Linked DNA regions of Homo sapiens: region 2 is linked to region 1. Evidence: promoter capture Hi-C in 16 types of primary human blood cells and fetal thymus (Javierre and others, 2016). All regions are on one chromosome and are shown on one strand. The core of a region is centred on a gene start or on the middle of the fragment in contact, and the rest is flanking DNA. Distances in the headings are between cores, read along the strand shown.

What was found. Contacts are between HindIII fragments. The CHiCAGO score rates a contact against its expected background, and 5 or more counts as called.
Region 2: a fragment that was not itself captured here is called in contact with the fragment with the promoter of EFNB2 in region 1 in 1 of 17 cell types (total B cells); the score reaches 7.3 in total B cells.

What each region holds. Positions count from the first base shown.
Region 1 is chr13:106,532,043-106,537,149 of GRCh38, forward strand. It overlaps EFNB2 (ephrin B2), which reads right to left and starts at 3,620. Exons shown (of 5, transcript NM_004093.4): 1 at 2,801-3,620. The coding sequence starts at 2,922. RefSeq lists silencers at 1,059-1,118, 1,179-1,278, 3,408-4,067 and an enhancer at 4,648-4,717. The HindIII fragment of the contact is 2,990 bases long and covers 2,048-5,037 here.
Region 2 is chr13:102,940,422-102,945,845 of GRCh38, forward strand. No RefSeq gene overlaps it. Among named protein-coding and RNA genes, the nearest start is that of ERCC5, 97 kb to the left of the region's middle. The HindIII fragment of the contact is 1,829 bases long and covers 1,208-3,036 here.

The DNA.
Region 1 (5,107 bases), core at 2,370-4,869:
TTCTCTGCTGAATTAAAAAAAAAACAAAAAAAAAACCAAAACTTTAAACAACCAAAATGGCTACAACGGACCCAACTCTACCAGAACGTATCAAAGCAATGTGAATAACCTAACAGGGCAGCTACTGTTTCAGCACGCAGGACATCTTTCCATTATTACATACAGTCAGGGACGGGAGAGCCGACAATGTGATTAAAGTAGTTACGGAGACGCTGAATTTACAAAGGGTTTTCTGGACCCTGTATCCAAACAGCTGCTGCATGCTCCCTGTGTCGACCACCTGCTAAAAAAGCTGACCTCTGAATGAAACAAATCTAATTACTGATGGCGGCTTCATTACAAATGAATTGTTCCACAGTTCATAGGAACTGATGTGAAACTTCAATGCATTTGATTACCTTCCTGCCACATCATATTTACCGATTCAAACTTTCCTCTGGAAATAAATATAAAACTTCCCCAAGGAAAGCGACCCCCTGTCATCAGGGGGTTGTATGCATTCTCAAAAACTTAGAGAGGACTCTTTCCTATGGCTCCTACAGGAAGAAATCTTTCTGATCTCTGGAGCTAGCATTCAGCTGCAAGGGAGACCTTTTCCAGGCACACATTATCCAGTCATCCAGGCAGGCCGTTATCAGGAGAATTTTAAAAGAAATGCTGCTGTGGAGGACAAGACAGCAGCAGCAACCTCAACCGCGCAAACGGCAGGCTTCCAGAAACGCAGGGCCCTCGCAGGTCTGGACATAGCTGGAAAGACAGACTCATCTTCATCATCAGAATGGGGGGGGGGAGTGGTGAGTACCTGTCACCTCCCCCCAGGACCCCCCATCTCGACACATTACAAAAAGAAGTTATTAACGTCTAAACCTTAGGTTGAAATAACTATTGTTCTACTTTTCTTTTTCTCCCAACTAGGTATTTCTAATTCTCCTACCGGATACACACAAACTAATAGTTAATATAGCGCAAAGATAAAGATACACACACCGAACTAAACGCTGAAGAGGCTAACGGAATTGCTTTCAACTAGATTTAAACAGAAATATTAAATCCTCATAAGAAAAAAAAAAACAGCCTCAAAGAGAACCGGTCAGTGAAAGTGCAGAGTGGCTGGAGCAGGCGGCCTGGGGGAGGGGCGAGGCCTGGCGCTGCGCGATTCCGCATGGAAGAGTGACCTCTGGAGGCACCGGGCGGGCAGCGGCGCCGCGGGCTCCCCGCGACCGCCTCGCCCGCCCGCCCGCCTCTCCCGGACTCCGGGACCCGCTGCTGCGCGAGGTCCTAGCCCGGCTCCTTCCGGCACCACCTGGCGCCTCCCGAGCCGGCATCGATGCAAAGATGCCGCCGCCAGTACTTCATCAGCAAATACAACAATTTACATTAAAAATATAATCCATGCAAGAGCAGACTACATGGAAGGAGGCAGAGCTAAGTAACTTCTCCGTATGAGCGGTGTTGAAAGTGCCTTCTAGCATCATACAAACATTTGTTTAAACCGATTTGTAACCGACGTTTTCGCCCTTTTCATGAAGGGATTCTTGGTTAACATGTTAGTGAATTTGAAATTTGACACTTTTAAGAGAATGGACACACTCCTTTAAGACGTGATTTCTAAATCAATCCCCCATTTCTTTTCTCCTAAAACCAGGCCCAACTTGCTCAACTTCAATTAGGCCATTGATTTTGCTTCTGATCTCAAACGTTTTCTCCAGAAACCAGCTAATGTCTGCATACTTCTTCTCCAAGTTTCCCGAGACTACAATTCCAAGATTCTGTAAAATATGTTTTGGCTGTGATTCGAAATAAGGGGATACACAGTACTGAATACCCAGATGACTACGAGTTATGACCACACAGATTTAGGGATGGATGGGATTTTCTAAATTCTGAATGCACTCTGGTGGCCCAAACTGAAAGTTACTCTCCACAAGGCCTGGCTCGCTCCCGGCTGTAGAGTCCGGTAAGAGCAAATCTGATCCTAAGGATCCCATTCCTACCAGGGTCCCGAGGGAGAAGGCTTCAGGAGCAGTGTCGACTGGGCAGGGCCCTAAGCTTTTATAGGAAGTGCATTACAATCAGGTCGGCCATCGAGACCGCATACTCCGGGGCTACCGGCTTATGAACGAAGCGGGAGGCCGAGGTGCGGCGGGCCCTCAGGGAGAAGCCTAAGGCCCGTCTCCCCGGCGCGGAGGAAAGGGCTCGACGCCCGAGTTCTCCTGCGAAGCAGGCGAGCTCCCCGCGCACCCTCGGGCTGGCGGCGCGGTGCCAAGGCGCCCCGGCTCCAGGGCTCTGCGGGCAGCGTAGCGACTCCAGGCTCCCCTCTCCAGAACGCGCTTCGCTGCCAGCGTCCTGCCACCCCGGTCGCCCGCCCGCGGGCCCCGGACCACGCCGCCCGCGCTCCCCGCGAATGCAGCATCTCCGCCTCTCTCCAGAGCCCACCAGTCCCCGCGTGCCGGCCAGCCTAGATTGTGGCCATGTCCTTCGTCCTCGAAAACAGGAGAGGGTCAGGTATCGCCATCGGACACCTTCCCGGACTTGACACCCGAGCCGATAGTAGCTTTTAGCGCCTGGGAGCGTTCGGGGGAGGAAAGGCGGAGAGACCGTCCGTTCCAGCGGGGCTCGGGTTGGAAAGCCGAGCGAGGAGTCTCCACCTAGTGAAATGGGGCGGGGGTTGGGGGTGGGGGACGGGGAACCGAGGTTCCAGAAACAGGCTCCGAGGCCCCGCGGACTGACCCCTCCTCCCGCCCGGACGGCGCGGCGGACCCCGGGGCGGGGACATAGGGGGATCGCGGACGCCACTTACTTGGAGTTCGAGGAATTCCAATAGATAGGCTCTAAAACTATCGATTTGGAAATCGCAGTTCTGCATAAAACCATCAAAACACCCCAGCAGTACTTCCACACGGAGTCCCTTCTCACAGCCATGGCGAAGCCACTCCCAGCTCCGCGCACTCCGGGCCAAGAAGGGACTGACGGGACGCAGGCTGGGACCCCCAATCCTCCGGGGCAGACTGGCGGGGAAGACGGCGTGCGCCCGCAGGCAGCTCCGAGGCGCGCTGCGCAGCTCCAGCGGTCGCCGGGCCAGGTGCGCTCGCTCTCCGGGGCCCTCAGGGCGCGGGGCGGGAGCGCACGCGCGGGGCGCGGCGGCGCGGCGGACTCGGGGTTCCGGGGCGCCGCGCCGGACGCAGCTCGGACGGCCGACTCCCGTGCGGCTCCAGGGTGCCGGGCCGGCCGCGGCTGGCGGGTGGGCGCGGGGCGGGTGCGGGCTGGGACACAAAGACCCGGAGCGGAGACGACCGGCGCGGGCGGCGGGCGCTGCGCCCCGAGCGGGGCCGCCTGTGACTATAGATCCAGTGCAGCGGGCAGCGGCCCGAGCGCGCGGGCGCCGCGTCGGCGCGGTTCCATGTCCCGGAGCACGGAGCGGAGTAGGGCGCCTCCGGGCGCGCAGGAGCCTTCTCAGTCCGCGCGGCTCCCGGCCCCCAGGGCAGGAAAGAGGGAGCTCGGTCCCCGCCGCGGGCTCCGGACGCGCGCGGGCCTTTGTGTGCGGGGAGGGCGCCGGGACCCGCTGCGTGCGCAGCTCCTCGCTCCGGCCGGCGCCGCGGTCCCCGCCGAGGAGAGTCAGCGCGGCCGCCGCGCTGTCAGAGCGCTATAAACGCGGGGCCCCGCCCCGCCGCGCGAAGCCCATTGGCCCGCGGCTCCGCGGCCGCGCGCTGGTTGGACGGCCGGTCCGTCCGTCCGCCATCCCCTCCCGACATTGGGTGCCGCGAGGCGGGGCTCGGGCTGACAGGTGAGCCCCGCCCCTGGCTCCCGCGGGCGGCGGGAGCGGAGCAGAAGCCGGGCAGGAGAAGCGCTCAGCGCGTGCACAGGGCGCCCCCGGGGCGGCGAGAGGCCTTCTGGGCGCGGTGCAGACGTGGAAACAGCGACGGCCGAGTAGCGGGCCACCTGTCTCCGCGCCCGGGGGCGCCTTCCCCCTCGGCGGAATCAGAGGGCGCGGCTTTCCCTCGAGCAGTGCGGAAGGCAGCAGGCTCCGCTCGGCGTCCCTTCTCCGCAGATGCGGCGCTGCCCCGCGTGCAAGACTTGCACTCCGCGCGCACCCTTAGAGCTCCCGGCTTCTGCGCGCTTCTCCCGACGCCTCTCGGCGAGGGCTTCTCACTTGATTTTGGTACCAATCGCCTACGGCTCAGTTTCAGTCAGTGGGGCCGGGAATTGCAAGACGATTCCTGCGACGCGGCGCCGGAATTTGCAGCTCTAATCAGGGCCTGAGCATCGTCGCCTCCCGCCTTCTCTGCGGGCGTCTCCCTTCCCTCCTGGCCCCCCGGGAAGGTGGCGCCCCTGGAGCTTTCCCCGCGTGTCGCCGGCACAGGCACGACGCGGGGACCGTCTCACTAGCCTCTAGGAGACACGCGCGCTTCCCAAAGTGACCAGAGATTTAGAGGGTGTGAGATGGAAAAGTCAAGGCATGTGCTTCTCACTCGGCGTCTGCAAGACCCCAGAGCAGAGCTGGCAGGAACTCCTCGCTACTTTCCCGGTCGAGCGCCGGTGCTGACGCTCGTCCGTGACTTCCACGGAGCCACAGCGCCCACTAGCGGCCAGCTTTGCTTCTCCGCATCTCGAGCGCTCTGCGGTCCACCGACCCGGATCCAGCATACTGCAGCATCTAATCAAGTCACAGTTCCAAGGAAAATCTTTTTATATGTCCAACAGTAGGAAGAACACGGTAGAAATAAGGCACAGTGCAAATGTACGATTCAGTATGAAAAATTAAAATATACTGTATGCCCACGTTTTTTTTCAATTTAATGCCGTCCACCCCAGGATTTATGTTTCAAACACAAACTGGGCAGTAATTCTACAAATTATGTATTTTTAAAACAAAGTATCCACTACGCTAAATTTAAAAATGCATATGGTAAAACACCTTGTTTTCTTTCACTCTTCTTTGTAACAATTTCTGAAGATTTTTATGGTACGTTGCTTTTAAGTATCCGTTTTTGAAACATTAGTCTAACTTAACGTATACATCTCAGTTGGAGTGGTAAAAGCTTGTGAAGACTAGTTTAAGATAGAAAACACATTAAGGCATACAAAGTACTGAATACACTTACTCTTC
Region 2 (5,424 bases), core at 872-3,371, 3.6 Mb before region 1:
CATGGGGAATGGATAGCAGAGGTTGGTGGACCCAGAGTTCTGTTTAGCAACTCAAAGGTTCTGCGGATTCTTAAGCAGGAGGATGACATTATGAATAGTGTCTTGGATGATTACTTTGGAAGCTCCATGCATTGCGTAGTTTCACTCATTCATTCATTTAACAAACTTTTAAAAATCCTGTTCTATCACCTGCTGGGGAATGAGGGTGGAACATGATGGGGAAAGAGAACTAACACTTACTGAGAGCCTACCTGCCACATGGCATTTTATACACTCAATTCCAGGTAATTCTCATAGCAACCCAGTGAGTTAGACATTGCTTTCAACATTTTATGGCTAAGAAAACTGAGCTTATTCTAAGAATAGCCAGCTGACATGTACAAAATCTAACTACCCTGCAACTGCTGTCCTGTGAGGTAGCAAAAGCCAACCATATGAGACATCTGACCAATCCCCAGTGTCTTACCCCAGCACCAGAAATGTAAATAAAGAAACCTTCTGATGATTCCAGTCCCTGCCAGCAAACAACTGCAATTGCACAAGAGACCCTGAGCAAGAACCACCCAGCTGAGCCCAGTCAACACTCAGAACTATGAATGATAATAAATTGTTTTATTCCACAGAGTTTTGGAGTAGTTTGCAGCAATATAAAACGGATAAGTGGCAAACACAGGTGGTGTTTTTTTCCTCTGCACTATCTTCCCTCTGGTAGTGTCTGCTGTTCTGACAAGGATTCTAGATTGAAGCAAAGAACATGGGAAGCCATTACATTTATCTATTGAGGATGCCATTTGGGTCTGGCTTGAGCTGGGTTCTTGTGGATGAGAAGAGGCAGAACTAGGTGGCATCTTAAGAGAACTTGCATTAGGGCAAGATAGCATTTACATTAGTGCATTGTAGAGGGAAAAGATAGTGAGTTTGTTATCAGATAGTATTGAATTAGCAGTTGCTTTCTCACTTCCTGGTAGTCTAACCTTGGATATCTTCTTTAACTCTGATTCTCAGTTTCCTTGTCTTTACAGTTGGGATGATCTGAGGATAACAACAGATCCAATGAGGCAAAAGTAGTAAGTACTCAATAATTGTGTTCCCACAGTTTTCTAAACATATCTCTATTATAGCACCCATTGCATTGCATTTGAATTGTTTATTTTCCAGTTTGTCTCCAAAATACTCAAGTCAAGTAGACTCTGAGCTTCCTTAGGAAAGCTTATATTACATATTTTGTATTCTTGCTGATTAGCACAGTATACAGAACAGATATAAATAGCTGCTGAATGAAAGAAGGAATTGATGAATCAGTGAGTAAAGATGAATTGTGGAATGAAAGAAGGATAAAAAAATAACTTGAAGGTAACTAGCCTATTTGGTTTGGGGTTTGAAGGTAGCATTTGTTAAAAGGGGGAAAACCAAGGTGGAAAGAATTCTAAGAACAGTAGAAAGTGATTGGTAGTAATAGATGTAATACTAGGCTGAGAAACAGATCTGGCCAAGAAAAAAGTTTCAATGGAGTGTTCAGAAGCCCCAGGTGAAGGTGTTAAGGAAGAAATGGGTGCTGAAGGAATGGAAGCAGCATTGGAGTCCTCAGGGTTGGCTGGAGATGCCTGTATCCACACATATAGAGTATATGCTTTCTCCCCTGAGGAGTTTATTTAGCAGAAGGTGGACATATTAGATTGCATGATACTTAAAGAACACATTTCCTATTCATCTAATCATCAAATATTTATGAATCATCCAATGTATTCTAGCAACTGTGCCCAGCATGGGAACATTGTGCTGATCCAAGTATGTATAATGTTTCCCCCTTATCAAGCATATGTTCAAAAGAGAAGAGAGTCATTGAACAAATTATCAACCAAATAAATAGGTAACTATTAATTGAGTTACAACTTGTGAAGAGAAAATATAGAGACTGTTCGCTTTTCATCAATTCCATTCTGTCCATCTTTAGTCAGAGAACGCCTGAGTTTCAGCCAGGAACATGACCAAGCATCTAGCATCTTTTGCAACTTGCCCAAGTGACTAAGTTCTGGCCAATGGTAAATAAACAGAATTATTATTATTAATTTTATTATCACTTCCTGAGTGTGCCTCAAAAAGGAATCATGTATATTCTCTTGGTCCTTCCCTGCTTCCTGCTGGCTGGAAGATAATAACTGAAACTGCAGCCTTCTACTGCAAGATAGAAACCATGAGTTGTAGACTGTAGAACTTCCCATATAGTCTTGGACTATGGATTATAATGAGGCAGAAGAATGAATTTTCATCTTATTTAAATCATTGTATCTTTTGATCTATTTATTATTGCTGTTTAGCCTATATCTTAACTAGGAAAACTACTAAAGAGGGTGTATTAGTTTGCTCAGGTTGCTGTAACAAAATACCATAGATTGGATAGTTTAAACAGAGAAATTTATTGTCTTGCAATGCTGGAGGCTGCAAGTCTGGGATCAGGATGCCAACATGGTTGGGTTCTGGTATGGGCTCTCTTTTTGGCTTATAGACAGGCACTGTCTTGCTGTGTCCTTACATCATGACTGGGATACAGAGAGAGAGAGAGAGGGAGAGAGAGAGAGAGAGAGAGCACAAGAACAAGACAGCACTCTGGCCTCTTCTTATAAGGGCACTGATTCCATCATAAGGGCCCCACCCTCATGACCTCATCTAACCCTAATCATCTCCCAAAGCCCCCATCTCCAAACATCATCACACTGGGGGCTAAGCCTTCAATATATGAATGTTTGGGGGACACAACTCAGTTCATAGTAGAGGGCAAGGGGAGGACCCAGTTTAAATGGGAGTAAAGGGACAGGAATCTCCCATGAGGAAGTATCTTTGAAGCTGAATGAAGAAGAGTGCTCCAGATAGAAGGAATAGTGTGTATAAAACCCTTGAAGGGGGAAGGAACTTGATATTTTCAAAGAAGTATGAGGGAAAGCAGGTGAGAAAAGACCGGGGTAATCCCAAATGAAACAGGAAGTCTCTGATGGGTTTTAAGTAATGGGGTACCATAAACTGATTTGCATTTCCAAAAGCTTCCTCTCTACTGGGGGGATTGGAAGGAAAAGGAATGGATGAGGGGGTATCACTCAGCCTCACGGGGGGATAATGGCAACTAGCCCTAGAGCTGTTGTTGGAGCTGGAAAGAAGTGATGAATTTGAATGATATTTTGAAAGTAGAACTAACAGGTCTTTTTAATGGATGGGATATGTGTCAGGGAGAAGCAAGGTGCTTTCAGGGTGATCCCCAAGTTTTGAGAGGGAGGAGACTAGAGGGTAGAAAAAATTGGCAGATTAAGACCACGTGTCCAATGTCTTTTGAAGATGTTATATAGAAAAAGAGCCCCAAATCCAGCATTCAGTACCCACCACTGTCGATTATTAGCCATGACCTTGGGGATGTTACAGCTTTACCAACAAAGAAAACAAGGTTTTGAGATTAAGAAACATAAAGTCAGCATTTTGAACTTAAAATTCACAGAAGTAATATGTCATAGTAGAAAGCATGGGCTGTGAAGACAGGTGTCCAGTTATATTACTTCCTTATTGGGTGACCTTGAGGAAGTCACTTAAATTACTAGAACCTCAGTTTTCTCATGTGAAAAAAAATTAGTGGGCTTGTCCTGTGGATTAAAAATGATAATTTCTGTAAAACAGTAGCAGGCTGTCTGGCATGGTAAGTGCCAAGTAGATATATGCTTAATTGCTCCAAGTAACTTACATTTAGTGTTCAATATGTGTAGAAATCAGATAATTTAATTGTATATTTATATTCCAAAACTCAGAAAGGGGAAGACTGAGAGACAAATACAGGCTGAATTGCCTGAACTGCAGCAGTCATTACACAGCCCTCTTTCTTCCCGGGTCTGAATATTGAAACTGGGAAGTGAGTCCCTGAGGGGTATTGGAGTTAGACCCTGTAACTCACTGGTCAACATGTTCTGTTTTACAATTTTCCAGAAGGTAGCAGTGATCTTCTGGAAAAGTTGTCAAGCACCAATAGTAAGCTCTGAATGCAACTTCAACAGTTGTCATTATTTTTTAGATTTTTCATTTATAGAAAGTCCATGCAGCTTCCTGGAATTTGGGGGTATTTGCTCAATGTACTGTGGGGAAGTGGTCTGAGCCTACAGCAAGAACACCACTTTCATAGTTAATAACTAAATAGTCAACAAGCGCACCCACTCAAAGGGCAAATCTGGCCAAGGTATTAGGATTTGTACTAAGAAAAATGCCTAAGGTATTTCATGGATATTTGATGAAAGTACTTGGTCATCACCATGATTTTAAATTCCAGTGACCTGGAAATTCTGAAGGATGATTTCAAAAAAGTTTTTACTCTTTTTCATCTCAGTGTGTGGTGGATGGTGCAGAATGCATTCCTTCTGTAGAGTTACCCACAGGTGATAGCCTTCTTCTCAGTGTGGCAGAGGGGACATGGTGGGAACCCCTGAGGTAGCTGGACATTTATCTGGACCTTGGTGAGAGAGCCTGGCCCCTTGGTACTTTGAAAAAATGTGCAGTTTGGATGGGAACCTTTGGAAGTCAACACTGGAGAAGTGGTGGGACTTTGCCTCCGTGGGGTGTAACTTGATCCTATTGGGAAACAAGGATTTGCCTTTTACAGAGTTTTGCCTCTATCAGATGATAATAATGAGATTCTTCAGCTTCTCCTTAGGCATTATTCTTGCACCTGTTGCTTGTGGGGCTTGAGTTTTTAATATGCTAGATGCCACTTTATGTCTCATTCCTAGTGCTGGGTTTTAGCAACACAGAAAGCAGAAAGCCTGACGTTCTACAGCCATATGCTTGCATCGTTACTTAAAGAGAAAGATAGAAAGAGCAGAAAACTCTTGATATTTGTTATTTTAATTTTTCAAACAAGAGGAGCAGAGCGAATTTCCACAAGTGAGAACAAAACTAAATCGTGCTGAAGAGAAAATCTATTCTTCTATCCTTTGGACTTATTTTTTTGTACAAGTAGATCATACGTAGGTTAAAATAATCACAAAACTTGGAATTTATCCAGTTGTATAGTGGGTAATTACAGAGTTGCTTTGTTTAATGATGTGGTATTTTATAGAAGGGCATTTTTAACCTTTGTCACTAGTGCCAAATGGAAGGGGACACAGCCCTTCATAAAAGGTATCATAATTCTAATTGCATGTAAAGTTTATTTAGAAGCAATTCATTTTTAAAGACGTGTTCCAGTTTGTGTACTTTGTTTTTAGCGGGTAAATATTGCGGACGTAAATTGGTTTGTGGTAACAAAAGTAAAGTAAGAGCAAGTGCTTGTTAATAATCTGTTTCACTATTCATATTTCCAAAGTCCAGCTCTGGCTAACAGAGACGCTGCAAATTCATTTCTAAAACACAAGGGAAGGCCTTTATATAATCAAGTGGCTCATTAGAGAAGATCAG